2 separate regions of the Homo sapiens genome follow, and region 1 is linked to region 2. The links are contacts of gene promoters, found by promoter capture Hi-C in blood cells and fetal thymus (Javierre and others, 2016). All regions are on one chromosome and are shown on one strand. The core of a region is centred on a gene start or on the middle of the fragment in contact, and the rest is flanking DNA. Distances in the headings are between cores, read along the strand shown.

The links. Contacts are between HindIII fragments. The CHiCAGO score rates a contact against its expected background, and 5 or more counts as called.
Region 1: a contact is called between a fragment that was not itself captured here and the fragment with the promoter of CD63 in region 2, in 1 of 17 cell types (megakaryocytes). The highest score is 8.7, in megakaryocytes.

What each region holds. Positions count from the first base shown.
Region 1 is chr12:55,789,536-55,796,420 of GRCh38, reverse strand. It overlaps SARNP (SAP domain containing ribonucleoprotein), which reads left to right. Exons shown (of 11, transcript NM_033082.4): 5 at 345-396; 6 at 1,541-1,614; 7 at 2,034-2,062; 8 at 5,829-5,854. Among named protein-coding and RNA genes, the nearest start is that of SARNP, 25 kb to the left of the region's middle. The HindIII fragment of the contact is 2,580 bases long and covers 141-2,720 here.
Region 2 is chr12:55,727,759-55,734,597 of GRCh38, reverse strand. It overlaps CD63 (CD63 molecule), which reads left to right and starts at 5,589. Exons shown (of 8, transcript NM_001780.6): 1 at 5,589-5,645; 2 at 6,246-6,322. The coding sequence starts at 6,257. CD63-AS1 (CD63 antisense RNA 1) reads right to left here and starts at 5,504. Exons shown (of 2, transcript NR_183514.1): 1 at 5,243-5,504; 2 at 3,746-4,936. RefSeq lists silencers at 5,243-5,622, 5,893-6,192 and an enhancer at 5,157-5,763. The HindIII fragment of the contact is 20,987 bases long and covers 1-6,839 here.

The sequences.
Region 1 (6,885 bases), core at 181-2,680, 66 kb before region 2:
CAGAAAAATAAAAGTAAATTGAAAAGTTCCTAAAAGCAAATGAGATGGTTTCTGGTGTCCTTTGAGTGTTTCCCTTCAGCCCAGTATATTTAACCAGACTTCTTTCCTTATTTCTTTATTATACTTTAGCTAAAGAAGCTTAGTTTGTTATTTGAACTCTTTCCTCTCAATAGATGACAGTTAAAGGAACCAAAGCTCTAGTGGACTTCATGTTTCTTTGGCTTAGGGGGTGGCAGAGAGATAATAGGGCAGAGAATGGTGACTCAGGTGAATTCTTACACATTTCTGAGGTTGTGGTTTAGAATATCAGTTTTCTCATTTTAAAAAATCTCTTTCTTTTCTAGGGCAGCAGAGAAGAAAGTGGTGAAAATTACATCTGAAATACCACAGACTGAGGTAGGTATTCTGCTCCCTAGTAGAACAGTCTCTACATTTCTCTCTCCCTCTTACCCTTTATTATATCTGCATCATCCTCTAAAATTTATTCACAGGCAGAAAATCAGTATTGGCAGATTTTGGTGTTGATACGTTTCACTGCCAGCTACTCTTTGGAAAATATTTGGCTGGCGTAGGGGTAGTCATTCTTGAAGTTGTAGTCTTTTTATATGTAATATTATGGTCTTAACAGTGACTCTCTTTGAGATGTTTTCAAACCTAGGATTAGATTTAGGAGGATTGTACCTTGAAAATGTATTGGTAGATGTGACTCTTATGTTGCTACTGGCCAGTAGCTGAGATTGAAATTTCTCTGGTTTCTGTGGTGCAGGACTGTGAAACCAGGTTCCATTTGAGATCTTGTGTTCAGTATCATACTTGCAAAGTAGAGAATTATTAAACTCTTTTAGAATGGCATAAAACAATGCTGCCTCATTTCTAACTGAAAGAATACCATTGGTGTTGGAACCAAGCTATTCCTTTGATCACTTTTCAAAGGTCAGCCAAACATAGCTTTTGACTTCTTGGCTTCATGCATAATGTAGGTTTTACTTTATTTCTCCCTTTTGTTTTTGAGGGCATCTAGTAATAGTCTTTTTTTGTTTGCTTTGTGGGAAGGGCCGTTAAGTCCTAGCATGGACACAACCTGATATCTTCTAGGATTGTCAGTATTTTCAGTTTAGACCCTAAGAAATTACTTCTGATGTTTTTAAGATACCTACCTTTGGCTGGGCCAGGTGGCTCACGCTTGTAATCCCAGCAGTTTAGGAGGCTGAGGTGGGCAGTTCACTTGAGGCCAGGAGTTCAATATCAGCCTGGCCATCATGGTGAAATCTCATTTCTACTAAAAGCACAAAAATTAGCTGGGCACAGTGGCACAGTCCTGTAATCCCAGCTACTCAGGAGGCTGAGCCACGAGAATCGCTCGAACCCAGGAGGCTGAGGTTGCAGTGAGCCGAGATCATGCCACTGCACTCCAGGCTGGGGGACAGAGTGAGACTCTTTTTTTTTTTTTTTTTTTTTTTTTTAAAGATACCTACCTCTGACTGACTTTCTTAAACCATAAATTGACTTTTTTTTCTCCCTTTTGTCTATTTTTACTTAGAGAATGCAGAAGAGGGCTGAACGATTCAATGTACCTGTGAGCTTGGAGAGTAAGAAAGCTGCTCGGGCAGCTAGGTGAGTGTCCCCAGCCTTTTGGGCCTCTGATAGGGGTGTTGTAAAGATGAAGATGTGTGATCCTAGCTTTTAGGTATAATTGTTGATTTTAAGTAGAATAGAGGCTTGCTGAAGGATATGAACACTTTTTTGACCCTATTCAGAACATGTCTACTGATTTGGTTATAGTAGCTATAAATTGAGCTTTATTGAGAAGGGTTTTTGTAACAGTTAAAGCCAGGAACTGACTACTACTAATTCTGATAAGGCTTCCTTTTAGCTTAATTTCTGAACCTCTTTCATGGGGTTGTTAGAATTAGCTAATGATTGCAAGGCTTGAGATCACAAGCAAGAAGTGTCATATGTATACTTGACACGGAGACAGACAAACCAGGAGTGTGAACAGCTTCCTAAAATTTAGTTTGTTTTTCCTTCTTCAGGTTTGGGATTTCTTCAGTTCCAACAAAAGGTAAGAGTACAGAGATACTTCTGAGAAAGTTACCTTTTTATTCTTTCTTTTCTGGTATAACAGGTTTTATTTCTCCAAAATAAGGTAAATTTGCTAGCTGTAGAAACTCTTTAAGAGATTGTAACATTCATCTCCTGCTTTAGGTAAAATTATACTTAGGCCTTCCTGGGCAATTAAGAGAGATACTGAATGTTATGAGAGGATAGGAAGTGCCAACATTTGTCTGTCTTTTCTTGAACATCTTCAAAGAAGTTTCTCTAGTACTTTGCTTACTTATTCTGGGGTCTCAACTGCATAAAATTATTGCATACTATCTAGTGTTATACTGGCTATTATAAGTGATAAAAGGGAAAAGAATATCTTCTACCTTAACAGTTTTACTTCTAGGAACGTATAAGGAAATAGTCTTGAATGTGCATAAAGACTTAGCCTCAGGGATTATCACAGCATTATTTATAGTGATCAATAACTGGAAACAACCAACTGTACAACAGAGAATTAGTTATTAAATGTGTGCCATGGTATAGCAGACTACTGTGCTGAAATAATATTGAAAGATATTTATCAGAGATATTAATGAAAAAAGTTACAAAATTATATTAACAGTACGTTCCCATTTTAGTCATGTAAGAGTGCATGTATAGATAGGAAAAAAGCTTGGAAGGATACATAGTAGACACTTCAGCAAGGTTTGAACTGCACAGGTCCACTTATACTTGGATTTTTTTTTTTTTCAATAAATACAGTTTGCTGTCTGTATCTGAGGGTTCACCATAACCAAATGCGGTTCAGAAATACAGTATTCTTGGGATGTGAAACCTGCAGATATGGAGGAGCAGCTTATATCTGCTGCAGGACTTGAGTGTGGTGGATTTTGGTATCAGCTGGAGGGGTGGGTTTGGATCCAATCCCCTGAGGAAATGGAGGGACGACTGTATTCTAAATTGTTAATACTCTTATCTCTGGTTGGTGGAATTTTGAATGATTTATTTCTTTTTGCTTGTCTGTGTTATTAAAATCCATACAATGAATATGTATCACTTTTGTAATGAATTAGAGGAAATTATTACTATTTTTTGAGACACAGTCTTGCTCTGTCACCCATGCTGGAGTGCAGGGACGTGATCTGGTTCACTGCAACCTCTGCCTCCCAGGTTCAAGCTATTTTCCTGCCTCAGCCTCCTGAGTAGCTGGGACCACAGGTGCGTGACACCATACCCAGCTAATTTTTGTATTATTAGTAGAGACAGGTTTCACTGTGTTGGCCAGGCTGGTCTTGAACTCCTAACCTCAAGTGATCCACTCACCTCTGCCTCCCAAAATGGTGGGATTACAGGTGTGCCGAGCCTGAAACAGTTATTATTTTTAAGAAACGGCTGGGTATGGTGGCTCATGCCTGTAATCCCAGCACTTTGGGATGCCAAGCCGGGAGGATCAGTTGAACCCAGGAGTTGGAAACTAGCTTGGGAAACAAAGTGACACCTTGTTTCTACAAAAAATTAAAAAATTAACTAGACATGGTGGCAGGTGTTTGTAGTCCCAGCTACTTGGGGCGCTGGGGTGGGAGTATCTCTTAAGCCTGGGAGGTCAAGGCTGGCAGTGAGTGTGATCTTGCCATGACACTCTAGCCTGGGTGACAGAGCAAGATCCTGTCTCAGAATTTAAAAAAAGGACAGGCTGGGCACGGTGGTTCACACCTGTAGTCCCAGCACTTTGGGAGGCCAAGGCAGGTGGATTGCTTAAGGTCAGGAGTTTGAGACCAGCCTGGCCAACATGGCGAAACCCTTCTCTACTAAAAATACAAAAAAAAAAAAAAAAAAAAAGCTGGGTGTGGTGTTGCGCGCCTGTAATTCCAGCTATTTGGGAGGCTGAGGCAGGAGAAGTGCTTGAACGTGGGAAGCGGAGCTTGCAGTGAGCAGAGATTGCTCCACTGTACTCCAGCCTGGGGGACAGAATGAGACTCTTTTCTCAAAAAAACAAAAAGAACATAGCCCCTTTTCTCAGGAACTTAAAACTTAAATGTAGTCTTCCAATTCAATCCAGTTTTCCCTGTGACTCGTCAGTAGTTTTAAGTAAGAAAATGTCCCCCAGAGATCTTCTTGTAGTGTTTTGCTGTGCTTTTAAAAAGACAGAAAAATTCTGGCCGCTATCACTAAGTGTTTTAGAAAAAAAAAATTTTTTTTCTGGCTCTTAGTTGCATCAAGAGAGATATAATTGGTGAAGATACAACAGAAATTATAGAACGTGGTGCTTTTTTATTTTTTTTAAGAGACAGGGTTTCACTATATTGCCCAGGCTGGACTTGAGCTCCTGGGCTCAAGCAATCCTCCCTCAGCCTCCTGAGTAACTGGGACTACAGGTGCAAGGCTAAAATGCTATTTGAAGAAAGATAATAGTTAAAATTAATAGTCTGAAAAGGGAACCTGATAAAAAATACAGTTTCAGTGTTACTCATAATTCTGACATCTTAGAACTATAGAGTAACTCTAAAAAATAACGGAATTTGGGAACATTTAAAAGCAAGCACTGTTTTTTTGAATGAAATCCTGAAAAGTTTGAAGTAAATAATTATTGGCTAGTTTCTTGGTGATAATTTCAGGACAGAAAATTGGCCTTAAGGAGCCATAATTTCTTTTTTTCTCTTTTTTTCTTTTTTTCTTTTTTGAGATGGAGTCTTGCTCTGTCGCCCAGGCTGGAGCACAGTGGCGCCATCTCAGCTCACTGCAGCCTCTGCCTTCTGGGTTCAAGCAATTCTCCTGTCTCAGCCTCCCGAGTAGCTGGGACTACAGGTGTACGCCACCACGCCTGGCTGATTTTTGTATTTGTAGTAGAGATGGGATTTCACCATATTGGTCAGGCTGGTCTACAAGTCCTGACCTCAGGTGATCCACCCGCCTTGGCCTCCAAAAGTGCTGGGATTACAGGCGTAAGCCACTGCACCCGGCCAGGAGCCATAATTTCAACTCATGATAGTAGTTCTTGTTTGTCCAGATGTGATCTCTTTTTTAATAGCTTTACTGAGATGCAATTTATATAACATACAGTTCATCCATTTAAAGATATATAATTCATTATTTCATAGTATATTCACAGAGTTGTGCAGCCATCATCACCGTGCTTATCACCCCAAAAAGAAAGTCTGTGCCCATTAGTAGATATCCTCCATTACCTCTCCCTGCCCAGCCCTAAGCAGCCACTGAGGTTTTTTTCTCCATGGAAATTTGCCTTCATATAAATGAATTCGTATAGTGCGTATAGTGTATTGTCTTTTGTGACTGGATTCTTTCACTTAGCATAGTTTTCAAGGTTCATTAATGTTGTAGCATGTATCTCTATTCATTTTTATTGTTTAATAATATTCCATTGTATGGATATACCATACTTAATTTAGCCAGTCATCAGTTGATGGGTGTTTTTCTTTAACTTTTTGTCTAATATGAATAATGCTGCTGTGAACATTTATGTACAAATTTTTGTGTAATTATATGTTTTCATTTTCTCTTAGCTGTATAGCTAGCAGTGGAATTGTGGGATCATATGTAACTGTATTTATCTTTTGAGGAACTGCCAAATTGTTTTCCAAAGCAGCTATACCATTTTATGTTCCTGCTAGCAGTGAATGCAGACATGATCGCTACATGCAATTTCTGCCTTTTCTTTGTCATCATAGGATAAAGGATGTTTTTATGTTGCCTAATTTGACTTGAAGACTGTTGGCTTTGATGACTTTTAAAAATATTAAATAAAACTTTATTTACTTCCTTAGGTCTGTCATCTGATAACAAACCTATGGTAAGAAATCTTTTTTTATTTCTTACACACCCAGATCTTAATTCTATATAGCTAACTTTAGAGACTCCTCCTCCCCAGATTAGAGGAAACTCTGAGAACATTAATTTGTTGACTCTTTTCAGTACAATGTTGTATGTCTTGAATTTAAAAAATTGTTGGAGATACTGAGAGGTCAGGAAAATTGTCACATGTTCAATTACTGCAGACGTCTTCCTTCCTACCACTCTTTTTGAAAGTAAGAATGGATTTTGTTAGCCATGTATGTAACTGTTTTATGGTACTGGAGGCCTTGTCCAGTGGCCTTAGATAATGTCTAATTCATAATTACCACAAGAGAATCTATGGAAGCAATTTAGGAGTTCTGTTTGTAGATAGTGCTTTTTTTTTTTTTTTTAAAATACTATCCGTGAAATGTGAAATCAGAGTAAAGAATGGTAGAATAAAATGGCTTTCTGGACCATTGTGACTAGTCAGCATATTTAAAAAATGGTAACGAATGCTGTGGTGAAATAGAATCAGCTTTATGAAATCCTGCTTTAGGGGTTGCTGTTTAATATTGTAAGTGAAGGTTTAATATTATTAATGAAAATTTCCTAAATATTCTTTTTTTTTTTTTTTTTTTTGAGACGGAGTTTCATTCTTTTGCCCAGGCTGGAGTGCAGTGGTGCGATCTCAGCTTACTGCAACCTCCGCCTCCCGGGTTCAAGGAATTCTCCTGCCTCAGCCTCCCAAGTAGCTGGGATTACAGGTGCCCGCCACCATGCCCGGCTAATTTTTGTATTTTTAGTAGAGACGGGGTTTCACCATGTTGGCCAGGCTGGTCTTGAACTCCTGACCTCAGGTGATCCACCTGCCTCGGCCTCCCAAACTTCTAGGATTACAGGCGTGAGCCACCGCGCCTGGCCCTAAATAATTCTTAACAATAGTAGCAAGTCCATGTACCAAGGTTTCCAAGAAAGAGGAGGGAAGAGAATCGAGTTGGGTAGTAGTTATAGGTTGTCTTCTGAAAAAGGTGCTTCCGTGATAGTTTC
Region 2 (6,839 bases), core at 4,340-6,839:
AAGGCAGGTGGATCACTTGAGGTCAGGAGTTCAAGACCAGCCTGACCAACATGGTGAAACCCCGTCTCTACTAAAAATACAAAAAGTTAGCCAGCGTGGTGGTGGGCACCTATAATCCCAGCTATTCAGGAGGCTGAGGCAGGAGAATCGCTTGAACCTGGGAGGCAAAGGTTGCAGTGAGCTGAGATCGCGCCATTGCACTCCAACCTGGGCAACAAGAGCGAAACTCTGTCGGAAAAAAATAAAAAAGAATTAAAAAAATTAGCTAGGTGTGGTGGCGGGCTACAGCCTGTAATCCCGGCTACTCGGGAGGCTGAGGCAGGAGAATCACTTGAAACTGGTAGGCGGAGGTTTTGGGGAGCTGAGTGCCACTACACTTCAGCCTGGGTGACAGAGTGAGACTTCATCTCAAAAAAAAAAAAAAAAAGACCCAGATTCTTACGTGCAGGTTGATCTGTTGACCCTGAGTGAGTGGCTTTACCTCTCTGAGCCCCACTTTCCTGGAAGTGAGATAAAAAAGGGACTTTGGCAATATGTTCTTCTGGATACCATGGTAATGTAGTCTTGCCAATTATGAAGGGTGTGGCCTCCCCCAAAAAGTTGGAGCAGAGATGGCCACCCAGTGACTGGAAGACTCCTTTTTTTTTTTTTTTGAGATGGAGTCTCACTCTGTTGCCCAAGCTGGAGTGCAGTGGCATGATCTTGACTCACTGCAACCTCTGCCTTCCAGGTTCAAGCAATTTTCCTGCCTCAGCTTCCTGAGTAGCTGGGATTATAGGTGTGCACCACCACGCCCGGCTAATTTTTTTTTTTTTTTGAGACAGAGTCTCGCTCTGTTGCCCAGGCTGGAGTGCAATGGCGTGTTCTCAGCTCACTGCAACCGCCGCCTCCCGGGGTTAGAGTGATTCTCCTGCCTCAGCCTCCTGAGTAGCTGGGATTACAGGCGTGCGCCACAATGCCCGGCTAATTTTTGTATTTTTTAGTGGAGACGGGGTTTCACCACGTTGGTCAGGCTGTCTCGAACTTCTGACCTCGTGATCCGCCTGCCTTGGCCTCCCAAAGTGCTGGGATTACAGGCGTGAGTCACCGCCCTGGCCACACCTGGCTAATTTTTGTATTTGTAGTAGAGATGGGGTTTCACTGTGTTGTCCAGGCTGGTCTCAAACTCTTGACCTCAGGTGATCCACCCGCCTCGGCCTCCCAAAGTGCTAGGATTATAGGCGTGAGCCACCGCGCCTGGCCTGGAGACTCCTTTGTGTTCCCCAGTCTCCACCAACCAGTAAATACATAGTGGTGATGTCGCCATGGAGCCCGTGCACAGTACTCCCCTGGGGGCTGCACTCAGTGCTGGTGCTGGGGCATATAACCTACTCTCTGGAGAGCCCTGCGGGATGGTCTATGAGCTTTTCTGCCAGCAGGACCTGCAAACGCGCAGGTGCAGCCCCTCCTTCACCCTGCGATCTGAGAGATGCCATCAAGCACCGTGCCTCTATCCTTATCCAAAGCTGAGGCCTCTGGACTTAAATTTCAGGCCCCCATTTCAGACCCAACCTCTGGACCTTGAATTTTATCCACCACTCTCCTTACCCTCCCAGTGGGGGGATGGCTTTGATGATGCATCCTTGTTTCCTTCTTCCCTCCCATCCCTATCTCTTCCTCTTCCCTCTCCCCACTCCTCTCTTACACCTATTTTTCAAAAATTAAAGAAAATGTTTTTTAAACTGAAGCCCAAGAAGCATTGATCCTTCATGTATTTTTGCCTCCTCTTCCCCCATCCTTCCCCATGCCTCCCACCCTCCTCTATGTCTCTCACTTTCCGGTTTTTCCTCACCCCTCTCCCAACTCTCCTCAACTGTTCTTTTCCCTTGATTCTGGATCCCTTCTTTCTTCCTCACCTTCCTCATATCCCCTCACCCTCCTCATATCCCCTCACCCTTTCCTGTGCTTAGATGCAGGCTACAAGCTGCTGTGCATGGCACTGGGTCTGGCTGATGCCTACATGCTCTCAGAAGGCTGCAGGTTTGCTTGAGACATCTGTGGCCCCCATGCTGTGTCGCTGGGCCTAGGTGGAGGCGTGGTGAAGCTGGAGGGAAAGCTGGCTTTGCTTGGTGTGGAGGGACAAGGGTCCCCGCCTCAGCACACCTACCACCAACTGGTGCCAGGCAACCAAGAGGCAGCAGCCTGGGCCAGCCAGGACGGCTTGGTGGCATATCTGGATGTCAGGCACTTGGAACAGGTGCTGGGGGATCTGAAGGATGTGAAGGGCCAGGTCTGAGATCAGCCACTTCCCACTAAGAGGCCCCTCTATCCTGCACCCCAGCAAACACATGGAGCTCTGTGTCAACTTTCCAGGCTGTAGAAGTGGGCCATTCTTTGTGTGTATGTGTGTAGTAAAATATATATAACATAAAATTCAGGGACATTGAGTACATACACATTGTGCAACCATCAGCACCATCCATCTCCACAACATTTTCATCTTTCTTTCTTTTTCTTTGAGACAGAGTCTCGCTCTGTTGCCCAGGCTGGAGTGCAATGGCACAATATCGGCTCTACTAAAAATACAAAATTATCCAGGCATGGTGGCGCATGCCTGTAATCCCGGCTACTCAGGAGGCTGAGGCAGGAGAATCTCTTGAACCTGGGAGGCAGAGGTTGTGGTGAGTTGTGCCACTGCACTCCAGCCTGGGCAACAAGAGCAAAACTCCATCTCAAAAACAAAAACAAAAACAAAAAACCTAGATGTTTATGGTTAAGGAAACAAATTAATAATAATAAAAAAGATAATATCGATTCTTACAAAATACAGTAATTAAGAAAATTAATCCTTTATCACAAACTTTTGTAGCAGAGCACATCTCTCCATATATACAAGCATTATACCGAGGGTGAATGTGTTCCTCCTCTTACTTTTTTTTTTTGAGACAGAGTTTTGCCGGGCACAGTGGCTCACGCCTGTAATCCCAGCACTTTGGAAGGCTGAGGGGGCGGATCACGAGGTCAATAGATGGAGACCATCCTGGCCAATATGGTGAAACCCCATCTCTACTAAAAACACAAAAATTAGCTGGGCGTAGTGGTGCGTGCCTGTAGTCCCAGCTACTTGGGAGGCTGAGGCAGGAGAATCACTTGAACACGGGAGGCGGAGGTTGCAGTGAGCCAAGATGGCACCACTGCACTCCACCCTGGTGACAGAGCGAGACTCCGTCTCAAAAAAAAAAAAAAAAAAAAGAGAGACGGAGTTTCACTCTTGTTGCCCAGGATGGCATGCAGCAACACGATCTCTGCTCACTGCAACCTCTGCCTCCTGGGTTCAAGTGATTCTCCTGCCTCAGCCTCCTGAGTAGCTGGGACTACAGGCACACATCATTGTGCCCAGCTACTTTTTGTATTTTTAGTAGAGACGGGGTTTCACCGTGTTGGCCAGGCTGGTCTCGAACTCCTGACCTCAGGTGATCCACCTGCCTAGGCCTCCCAAAATGCTGGGATTACAGGTGTGGTGAGCCACTGCGCCTAGCCCCTCCTCTTACTTTGGGGAACATCCTACTCTGTCTATGGAGCAGCTGTTGTTTCACCACTTTACTTTCTTAATAAACTTGCTTATACTTTGCACTGCGACTCGCCCTGAATCTTTCTTGCATGAGATCCAAGAACCCTCTCTTGTGGTCTGGATTGGGACCCCTTTCCTGTAACAAATGCATTGGCTGATAGGAGAATAAAGAAAAAAAAAGAGGAAAAACTAGAGTAACTTCTCTACATAATCATATTATATGACCGTTTTGTTAACCATGATAACAGTTAACAAAATAATTTTCTTATGTCTAATTCTCAGTCCATGTCTGTATGTCCCAAAATGTCTTTCACAGCTGGTTTGTTCAACCATTCAATGAAGGACCAAACATTGCAGTTGGTTGTTATGTATCTAGTCTCTCAATCTTGATCTTCAGACCACCTTCAGCCCATCTCACCACATCCGTCCCAAGCCCTTTGAGCCAGCCAACCCCAACCTGCCATGTACTTTACAAAATGCTCCTTTTTTTTCCACAGTCGACTGCTTCTCTGTCCCTGGAGCTCTCCCCTTTATTCTCCAAGGTCACCTTGAGCACATCCTTCTGCTCCGTGAAATCCATTCTCCTCTCCCTTTCCCTCCCTCTGAGCTTAACCAGCTGCCACCGCAGGCTTCTGCCTTTCTTCACAGTGTGGCCAGAACTCGGTTCTGCCTGCTAGCAGAGGGCAGGGCCGCTGTCTTCCTCTCCTTGCAGCCCCCAAGCCTAGCACATGCCTGGCATCTAGTGGCAGCACAATAAGGAACCTGATGAATACTCCTTTCTTCTGCTCTCCGCTCCTCCTCCACAGCCTGCCAGCCATGGTCAGGAAGAGCAAGATCCGGAATGGGCTTGGTGTGTCCCGCGGGAAGGCCGTGATCCTGGAAGATGCTTCTCAGCCCAGCCCGGATCTCCTTCCTTTAGCTCTAGAGACTTCTTTCATTCTTTGTGTACACACATACACTAAGACTCAGGAAGTGGTTCTTGAGGCAGGACCTTAAGAGCCCAAGGAGTGGGGCCGAGGCTGGAGGTGTGGGGGTGTGACGGCCGGTCCTACTCTCCGGCCTGTTCAGATCAGCTCCTTCTGGGGACCACCCCTGGCACACAAGGGAGGGAGGCAGCTTGATCCCCCTAGCCCGCTTCCAGCCCTCACCTGGCTTTGTCTTCTGGGATAAGACGGGGAAATCCAGAGGATGTAAGCCTCTCCTGCCTTCGTGTCTTCCCCCAAGCCCTCGCTATCACAGACGGATGCAGGAGCTGTCTGGGAGGCTGGAAGCACAGACCTTGTCAATCCTCCCCCAGAGGGCGGGACCCGACGCGGACGTGTCTTGATTGACTGGGTAGCGTGGCTTCGGGGAAGGGCTTCCTCCCCTTTTCTCAGACTAGGATCCCTGGAAAATGGAGAAGCTGTGCTAATAGAGGGGGGCCAGAAATCCCCACTCTAGAATGCTGTAGAATGTTGGGAGACACCCAGGATGTGAGCCAGGGACTTTCTGGAAGTGTTTGTTCTGGCCCCACCCGACCCCAGGCAGTCCCCAGCTGTCTGCACAGTCGGATGGGGAGGGGGCTTGCACAGAGTTGGAGCCAGAGGAGAGAGCTGGCTCATCCCCTACGGTAGGATGGGGAAACCTCACAGACCACATTGTCACCCGGCCTCAGCTCTCCGCCCCGGCGCTCAGAGGGTAACTCTCACCCACCTCGTCCGCTTCTCTGAACCAGAGTGACCCAGGCTGCGCTCCGCCCCGCTCTCCTACCCCGAGTTGGCACGGAGGTATAGCGCCAGAGGGGGGCCCCAGGCGCCCCGAGGTCTTGCCCTTGCGGCTTTCCCTTTGCGGGGGTGGGCGCCTTCTTCCGGGTAGGGGCCACGTGGCCCTGGCCGGGCGGGGGGCTCGGCCCACCCCGCGCCGGGCCCAGTGACTCAGGCCGCAGCTGTTACCGCGTCACATGAGGGAGGCCGGCGGCCACTCGGCGGGGGAGGGGACCGTGGCTGGAGCCCGGGGCGGGGCCGCGCGGCAGGCGGGGCGGGAGCCGGGGGGCGCAGCTAGAGAGCCCCGGAGCCGCGGCGGGAGAGGAACGCGCAGCCAGCCTTGGGAAGCCCAGGTGAGGCCGCGGGGACCCGGCGGACTTCGGCGCGGGCTGGGAGAGACCACCCGCAGTCCCTTCCTCCAGGGCTCGCCCCAGGCCCGCGGAGACTCGTCCGGCGCTCTCCAGCCGCCCTGGAGCAACTTTGCTTCGAAGTTCCCTGGGCCCGGGCAGGGTGTGGCGGGGGTGCTGGCTGCACTTTTTTTTTTTTTGGTGGGCGGGGAGGTCAGAGCCCAGGGGAAAGGGGCTGGGGCGGGGGTCGGGGTTGGGCTGAAGACCGTTTCTCCAGGCTGGGTGTTGGGTGGGGAAAGGGTGTTTGACGCCCGGAGACTGGCGGGCCGAGGGTCGGCGTCAGGCTCAAGCCCCTGCCGGCGCCCTTGGATCTGTCCTGGGCCCCAGAGGCGGCGGGGCGGGGTCCGGGCTTCGCGGCCGTCGCCCCCACCCCTCTCCTGCGGGTAAAGAGGGGGCTGGGAGACGTGGATCCGACCGCGGGTTTCCGGGTGGGAGGGGCCGGGAATCGGGGCCGTGAAGGGAAGCCCTCGAGGGCCGGCCGGGAGCCCGGAAACCGAGGTCCCCCTTCGGCCAGTTTTAATCCCCCCGCCCTCCCCTCTGCCCCAGGCCCGGCAGCCATGGCGGTGGAAGGAGGAATGAAATGTGTGAAGTTCTTGCTCTACGTCCTCCTGCTGGCCTTTTGCGTGAGTGGCGAGGGGTCCTGGGGGGCGCGCCGGCAGGGTGCGGGGAGACCTGGCTCCACAGTGGTGAGGGCTGAGGGAATGAGAATTAAGGCAGCTGGAGACCAGATGTGGAAAGAAAGCCAGGGAAAGACAGCGCAGCCACTCCCTCCTCCAGTTTTCCTGGACACCTGAGGCTTGTTTCCACCGAGAATGGCCATCCTGGGTGTGCAGCAACCCCTACCCCCATCCCTCCTGGCCCTTCCTGTCTGGTGACCCAACCACTTGTGATATGGGGCAGTGGGGCAACCAGCCAACCGCCTGATGCTATCGCCATGGGGCTTCCCTTCGCTCTCCCTTCTCCCCTCTCTCCCTCCCCAACCCTCTCATCCCTGTCCAGCCCCTCTCCCCCTTTCCCTCCTCCCAGCGCTTGGGGGTGAGGAAGGGCTCTGCCCACTTCAATTTGCTCCTGCCCTGGGCTCCTGGCTTGAGAGGCTACTGTTTGTCTAGGGAGGGACACATCACTCTTGCTCCCTTTTCC